Linked DNA regions of Homo sapiens: region 1 is linked to region 2. Evidence: promoter capture Hi-C in 16 types of primary human blood cells and fetal thymus (Javierre and others, 2016). All regions are on one chromosome and are shown on one strand. Each heading gives the region's core, a stretch centred on a gene start or on the middle of the fragment in contact. The rest is flanking DNA. Distances are from core to core; before and after follow the strand shown.

Region 1 (3,846 bases), core at 654-3,153, about 170 Mb after region 2:
AAACTTCCAAGATAAACTTGTTGTTTTTCTGCCAGAGAAGCCCTAAGACCCGGAGGAATGTCTGCATTCCAGTCTCTGGTCTTGGGATTCCCTGTGCCTGTCGAATCCAGCCAGCTGTTCAGAGGATCCAACTCAAAAAGTCTCACTTCTCACCCCACACGCTCATTACCTCTCAGATACTTGGTGTCTGCTTAAAACGAAAGCTCTGGAATTAGCATCATTGAGAGGTAACTGTTGATTTAGTTTATTAACATATACTTCCACTGAAATGGCTAATAGATATGGTCTAGAAACCAAGGAGAACTCAAAATGGAAAGCTGTCTATTCTTTGGAAGTTCAAGGCTGTGCTTTTAATTGATGCATTTAACTGTAAGAAAAATGAACTATATGTTCATTTGTTTCTTTTAATTGGAGAGATGTTTGATGGAATTGTTTGTGACTAACAGTGTGTTATTCAATGATATGACCCCCTGATTATTAGGTATTAATTTCCAGACCTGTGATGTAATGCTACCATATGCCCACAAGATGTCTGTCTTTCCCTGTGTGTTTTCCACATAAATAGAATTTCCGACGGTATTAGGACTTAACCGAACCTTCTTGCTGAGGGGAAAGGCCATCCTCTGGGGCATCCTAGGGTGGAAGGCGTCTTGTGGGAACCACTTTGCTATCCGCCCACACACGTTCCACCAGGCTTAGTCCTAAGCTGTCTTTGCTCCAGTTTTTCTCAACACTCAGGGTTATAGTGGTGGGGTTTCGACTTGTCCTCAGACATCAGCAATTTGCTCACAGCCTCAGCTCTTACCCTCAAAGTGATTTGAAGCCAGAGAGTAAACATGTTGCTTCTTCCTGAAACACTGATGTTACTTAGAAACCGGACAAATAAAATTTAGTTTTGAAACAATTAGTTTGAAATAGAAAGCAAAACTGATATGATTATTAAGCAAAATTTTCTTCAACCTGAGAAAGCTGATTGAGAAAAGTAAAAAAAAAAAAAGCAACATTTGAAAGGACTTTCACAACTCTCACATTGCAGTCGCCCTCTGTAAAGGAGGACAAGCCCACTCTGCCTTGCGGGTTTGTGAACACCTGGCGGCTGTAAGAGTTGGTCACACGAGAAGCTTCTTGTAGCTTCCGGGATCGGAGGAAGAAGGCGGCAGGTGCTCAGAGGTGACAGGTGTTGAGGAGGGGATTCTCTGTAGAGCAGCTGGCAAGGGCATGTCCCACCTAACTCTGAGGAGGGATAGGAAAGGGAGGGACATGTTTCCCCTTCACCTGAGGCCAGTGGGGGGTCTCCTTGGTTTCTAGACCACATCTAGCAGCCATTTCAGTGGATGTATATGTTAATAAATTAAATCAACAGTTGCCTCTCGATGATGCTATATTCCAGAGCTTTGTTTTAATCAGTGCCCCCACGAAGTGAAGCACTCAGAGTCAGATGCTACATGCCCTAGAGTGGTTCCAAGGGAACCGTGGGACAGCTCCAGGAGATGGGTTGGAGGTGACTGAGCCGCATGCTCACCCGCACTGGGATGAGCAGGAGTTCTGCATACTGGATACGGTGGGCATTTCAGTGGGAGCTGCGAGGAAAGCGAGGCTGAGGCAAAGTGAGCAGCCAGAAATAAAACTTTGCTCTTCCATCCCCCATTCAAAGAACTGTAGCTGGATGTCCACAGCTGGAAAGTCCTCACTTTGAACTGTATCCACACAGCACCAGTGGCAGCCACTCACCAAAACTTGTTTCTATTCTGTCTAGTTATTCCCCAGCCTCCCTGCACCTGACATGTGATTAAGTTCTACCAGCCAAACATCAGCAAAAGGGGCCTGGCCCCTAGGGCCTTCCTGTGCTCTTTGTCACTTCCTGCTGACTGGAAGAGGGATGAATCCCAGGACCCTGAGCTGGTGGTTAAGTTACTGTCTCTCGGCCCCACACCTTCCCTTTTATACTCTGCCTTGTGACGTAGGGACTGGGGAGCCACGTGCCACCTCTCCTGCCAGAGTTCTGTTCAGCTGTGCCAACAGATATACACAAGGAAACCAGAAGATAAGAGGTAGGAGAGGGGCCTGTGCCTCCCATTCTGTCCTGTCCGACTCCTGGTCCTGCTAGCGTCTTGCTATCCTTGCTTTCGCACCTGGCAGTGGCAGTTCATGAACAGAGCGGCATACGAATTGGGTCTGCAGTTTCTCTGACACACGCAGAGCCAGCCTCATAGCATCCCCTCGGAGATACCAGCAAAGTTGGTTTCCCAGCTCCACAGAGCCCTGAGTCCAAGAGCAGAGGCCTCAGCACCAGCCCAGAAGGTCCCTTCTTCATATGTCTGAGTGTGATTTCTGGGTGGCAGCTCCTCCACATTTCTGAGTTTTGCTCACTCCTTCCTCCTTCTTTTATTCTCTCCAGCCCAAGGTGTCAGCTGCTTCTTGCGGTGGCTCCTCCTGTGATATTTTAGTGTTTTGCTTTTACCTTTTCTCTCTTAAAATAATCTGGGTGTAATGTGGGTCTCCTGGCTGAGCTCTGCCCCAGTCCTGTGCGGAAGATGCTCTTCCGTCCCAAGGAGCTCGCTGCAGGAGAGAAGCCCACCCCACCAGCCTGTTCTTTGTTCTTGGACTATGACTCAAGCACTTTGGGAAGCCAGGTTACAAAGACTGCATCTTTTTCTCCTGATCCCTTCTCCTACCCCAAGCTTGGAGGGGTCACAAACAAGCTGGTGAATAAGGAAAATGTTGGAACAGAGGAAAAGCCTGTCTTGCCCCATTCCCACCCACCCACACCCATCTTGCTAGCGTCTAAGAACGGCCACCAGCTCCATGGGTAAGAAGCTAAGTTGAAGACAGGAAATAAGTGACAGCACATCACACTGGACTGTGTTGTCTCCGAGTGACTGGAAAGGCTAGGGTGTGTGCCCAAGACTGCATCTGGGGTAAGAAGGAGCCCAGAGGACAAATCCCACAGACAGCAATGATTTAAAAACCAAGACATGGAGGAAGTGACTTTATGATCATCTTCTGCTCAGTACTGCCCTTGCTGAGGCATGTGCAGCCCCTTCTCCTCCTCCTCCTCCTCCCCCTCCTTCCCCCTCCCTCCCCGTCCTCCTTCCCCTCTCCCTCCTCCTCACCCTCCTCCTCCTCTTCCTCTTCATCCTCCTCCTCCTTCTGACTCACCTCCCAATGAATTCCTCAGTTGTTGTGTGTGCCCAGCTCTCATCCTTCACAGTGCACAGCTCCAATCAGCCCCTCTGCAATATTGGGCTTGGCGTGCAAGTGGCACCCCCTTCCATCCTAGGCAGTAAATCCAACCAGTTCTCTAAGGTCCATTCAAGTCCAGTTTCTATGGGAAATGTCCTTGATAGAGTTTTGAATATCAAACTTTTTTGGTTTTTTTTTTTGGTATCATTCTTGGTCCTTCCCTTTTTTTCCTTTGTCTCCTCGCCACATATAAGCAGCATGAGTTCTGTTGGTAAGATAGCTGTCTGCCTGTCCCACCACAGCCATCATGGTCGCTGCCATCCCTGGCAGCCGGTTCTGTCCTGGGTCCTGCGAGGAGCATCTCCCTGCAGCACGATGCCTGCATGTGCCCCTGTTCTCCCACTTGCTAGGACCGAAAACTGAGGAGTTTGTCTGACTCCTCTTTACTCCCACGCCCTGTCACGGGGTCAGCCAGCCATAGTCAGCATGTGTGTGACTCCCAGCACCTCTCACTGTGTGCATCATCCTCTCCAGTCCTTGTGCCCTGACATCCGTGCCAGTGGGCAGAACCCACTCTACTTACTGTCATGTCCCCAACACCCAGACCGTGTCTCCTAAACATCAGTTACCAAGAAATGATTGCTGAATCAGTAAGCTGAGTGA
Region 2 (4,265 bases), core at 228-2,727:
TCACACCTGTAATCCCAGCACTTTGGGAGGCTGAGGCGGGTAGATCACTTGAGGTCAGGAATTCAAGACCAGCCTGGCCAACATGGTGAAACCCCCATCTCTACTAAAAATACTAAAATTAGCCAGGTATGGTGGCATGCGCCTGTAATCCCAGCTACTCGGGAGGCTGAGGCAGGAGAATTGCTTGAACCCAGGAGGTGGAGGCTGCAGTGAGCCAAGATTGCACCACTGCACTCCAGCCTGGGCGATAGAGTGAGACTCTGTCTCAAAAAAAAAAAAGAAAAAAAAATTAAACTGTCTTGAGTACTAAATATTGGTGTGGAGAACATCCTGGATCTTTGCCAATTCTGCATCTTCGCAGGAGCCAAGGATATTGCAGAATTTGCTATTTACATCCCCTCTGCTGCTTGTGTAAGATGAGGAAACAACAATAGCAGACATAATTGCTGAGGTTGGGAGGGGGAGCTGAGCTAACAATAGGCAAAAGATGAAGGGAAGAGAGGATAATGGTGGCAGCTATAGGATTCCAATGGTGAATTGTGGCTACTTAAAAAAATCAGGATATAAAGCCTTACCTATTGTGGGATACCAACTAGCTCTCAGGATACCTCAGGCTAAAATGCAAGATTTAGATCCTCAAAACCTGGGTTCAAATCCTACTTTTCTACCTCTAGGTATGTGATTAGGTTAACAAACTTTCTTCTGCCTCCATTTCTACGTCTGTAAATAGCAATAATAGTAGTATGTATCTGCTTTTTTAAATTATCGTGAAGAAGTGCGTGGAAAGTGCATAGCATCACGCCTGACACTTTTCAATTATTCAATATTGGCTTATGATTGACAATATTTAATATTTGGGAGGAAATCCACACACATATAAGACAGACTTAAGGAAAACTTTTATTTTCTTCTTCACACTTTTCCGTTATTTTCCAATTTTCTAAAATGAGTATGCATTGCTATTAAAACCAAAAGGAGGGAAACTCACAAATTTCTGAACAATAGAAGTTTGACTGTTCCACTGTTTCCGGAATTTCCCGGAACATGTTGTTCAAGAAGGACGTGGGAGTGCATGCTGAAGCACAGATTGCTAGGTCTCGACCCGTAAATACTGGATAAAAATCTTTAAGAAATAATTCTGGTAATCTATACTTTTAATCAGCTCCACAGATGACTGTTATAATCGGGCACTGCTGGGACGTGTTGATTGAATGGGAAGTGAGCAGAGAGTGGGCGGGGAAGGCCTGGCGGGGAAGGCCTGGCGGGTTGCAGCGATCACGAGGCCTGCGCCTACAGTTCCCATATTACCCCGCGAAATCGCGACGAGCAAGCACGAACCCTGCCGGGAGTTGTAGTTTCTCTCGGCTAGGCCGCTGCCTATAAAGAACGCCGGAGATGGCCACAGAAAACTTCCCGCCCCACAATGCAAAGGTCAACGTTGACGCCATCTGGGGTGCGCCTGGAATCGAGCAGGCCGTTTCTGCCGCGTCCACCACAACCTCTGCTGTATCAGAGGGGGCCTTCGCCGCCGCCGCCCCCACCACCGCCCCTGCCGCCATCGCCACCTCCGCCGCTGCCGCCTTGGGGCCCTCCTCCTTCACCGCCCCCTTCACCACCTCTACACGTTCTAGGCCTTCTGTCCTGGAGAAGAAGCTATAGTCGTTCTCCCTTGTGGGCCCGGGGCGCAGCCATGGCGGACGGCGGCGGCGGCGGGGGAACTGGCGCGGTGGGCGGCGGCGGAACTAGCCAGGCCTCTGCCGGGGCAGCGACTGGCGCTACTGGGGCCAGCGGGGGCGGTGGCCCCATCAACCCGGCCTCGCTGCCTCCCGGCGACCCGCAGCTCATCGCTCTCATCGTGGAGCAGCTCAAGAGCCGGGGCCTTTTTGACAGCTTCCGCCGGGACTGCCTGGCCGACGTGGACACCAAGGTAGCTGCGGCCGCCTGGGCGTTGGGGAGCGGGGCTGCACGTGAGGCCGCCGGGTGGCAGCTTTGATTTTCGAAAGCCGAGAGCAAAACAAAAGATAGCTTAGAAATCTCAGCGGTGAGGTCTTACACCGCTTGGGGCAGTACGGAGAGCTTTCTGAGCGATGCACACGTGGGTTCCTGCCTGATACATTTACTACTAGTTGTGATTTTACCCAGTCCCTTCTCCGAACTTGGGGTTTCAATGTGGGTTTTAGAGCCTAGACCGTATCATTCCCAAGATGGAACTCCTCTGAGGCCCTTAATAACAAACTTCGAAACCAAGTAGATAAGCAAGCGTGCTTTAGAATTTCCACCTGTTCCGTACTCACCACTGAGAAGCTGGCATTAAACACAATGATTTGAACACACAGTCATCACCATTTTATAGCTGTTTATTCCTTTTCTCTAGCTCATTGTTTTGCAGACTAGTACGGCGTTGAATTAAGATAAATTGTAGAAACAGCACCCTTATTTTGCACTTCATCATTGATAAAAGGAGATTTGGTGCCTAGTTGAGATCCTAATGCCATTGGTCAGTCCCACCAGTAAAACGCTATTTCACTTTACCTACTCGTCAGGGTGGTTTGGATTCAATGAAATAATGGGTGTTAAGTATCAGACATACAGTAGTTGCTGGAATGTTCATTTTCTTCCTTTTCAAAACTTGTCTAGCCACGACTGTGGTTGTAGGTTAGGAGACCCTGTCACTGGACTCCTGCAGGGTAGTGATTTCTCCTACCAGAGCCTGTCATGGAAACATTTTGCTTACCTCACAGCAAGATTGTGAGCTTAGAATTAGACCTTAAGATAGGGAAAAACGTAGTCTGTTTATTCGTTGAACGTTTATTGGCCTCTAGTTGCCAAGCTGTGCGATTACAGGAATAAGTCACTACCCCATCCTCAAAACTTATAGTCTAGGTTAGAAAACTGACATGTAAATAAACCAGGTGGTAAATACGGATGTAGAGAGAGAAAGTGGTATACACTGTTCCTTCTCCAAGATGAAAAGCCCAACTAGAAGTCTGTCCTTGAAACAAAGTAATTTAATACATATACATCCCAGATCTGTATTGACAGAGCTTTCACCTTTCCTAGGACAAGTTCTCCATTCATATTTCTTATATTCCGTTAGGTTTTGTGTGTGATTTTAAAACAAAAGCGACTACAGTAGCCCGCCCCATCCAAGGTTTTGCTTTCTGCGGTTTCATTTACCCAATTGTTGCGGTATGGAAGTACTTGTGTTCAGGTAACCCCTATTTTACTTCATAATGGCCCTCAAAGACATTCATGCGTAGTGTATATAGGGTTCAGTACTACCTGAGGTTTCAGGCACCCACTGGGGATCTTGGAACGTATCCCCTGAGGGGGGAGGGGACTACCCTCTTGAGCGGCTGGTGAGGGAGAGTGGTTGGAACCTTCCCATGTACAGCTCCTTAGCTGTTCCTTCTGAGAATTCCAGGTTGTTTTAGTTCTTGAAGATAGTGTTTTTTCAGGCATATCTTATCTGAGACCTTTGTTGCTTCAGCCCAGTGGTTCTCAAAGCGTGGTGCTTGGATTAACATCAGCATCACCTGAGAACTTGTTAGAAATGCACATTTTGGGCCCCACCCCAGACTGCTGAAGTATTTAGGGGAAATTGAACAGATGTCTGTAATTTACTTTGCACTGTAATTTACTTTGAACTGATAAGTGAACAGGTGGAGGGGTTGGTAGTACAGTAAAACGTTATGAGTGGGCTCATGAGTTCCTTTGACTTCTTGAACTGAGATGATTCTGTATCGCCTGGGTTTGTTACGTGTTTTGGTGGTGATGTTCACTGTCCTTTGTCCTTTTTCGGTAAACAGTTCGTATCATCTCAAACCAGGTGCGTTATTTTGAGTAGACGGTATGGCATCAGGATTTATGCTTACAAGGGACAAAAATAATCCTAACTGCTTTATGCAAAGGGGAGAATCTATTGTCTTACGGAATCCAGGGAAGGATTGAACGAACAAACTCTCCCAGAGGGTGGTAGGCGTGCGTTTGGAACCAGATATTCCCCATTCGTTCTGTCTTTCATCTCTGTTGATATCTGTTTTACTGTTGGTTCAGAGTGGAGTCATCCATTTGGTTACTAGTATCTCTTGATTACATTTTACAGCTTCTTCCTCTAGAGAGAGGCTGTCAGCTCCAATCTGGGAAATCCCAGGGAATGTCTGCATTGTCTTAGCGTGGCTCAGGCACCCACTCCTGTGGCACCCTCTGCCCTACCCTTGTGAAGAGAGGAAGACAGTTACTAGAAAGAAGGCGTTACTAGGCAG

What was found. Contacts are between HindIII fragments. The CHiCAGO score rates a contact against its expected background, and 5 or more counts as called.
Region 1: a contact is called between a fragment that was not itself captured here and the fragment with the promoter of BOD1 in region 2, in 1 of 17 cell types (non-activated CD4 T cells). The highest score is 5.1, in non-activated CD4 T cells.

The regions. Positions count from the first base shown.
Region 1 is chr5:5,416,230-5,420,075 of GRCh38, reverse strand. All of the region lies in intron 2 of LOC101929200 (a long non-coding RNA gene), which reads left to right. Among named protein-coding and RNA genes, the nearest start is that of ICE1, 4.5 kb to the left of the region's middle. RefSeq lists an enhancer at 724-793. The HindIII fragment of the contact is 1,560 bases long and covers 1,124-2,683 here.
Region 2 is chr5:173,613,862-173,618,126 of GRCh38, reverse strand. BOD1 (biorientation of chromosomes in cell division 1) reads left to right here and starts at 1,477. Exons shown (of 4, transcript NM_138369.3): 1 at 1,477-1,927. The coding sequence starts at 1,691. RefSeq lists enhancers at 1,201-1,280, 1,301-1,560 and silencers at 1,541-1,610, 1,621-1,670. The HindIII fragment of the contact is 8,451 bases long and covers 1-4,265 here.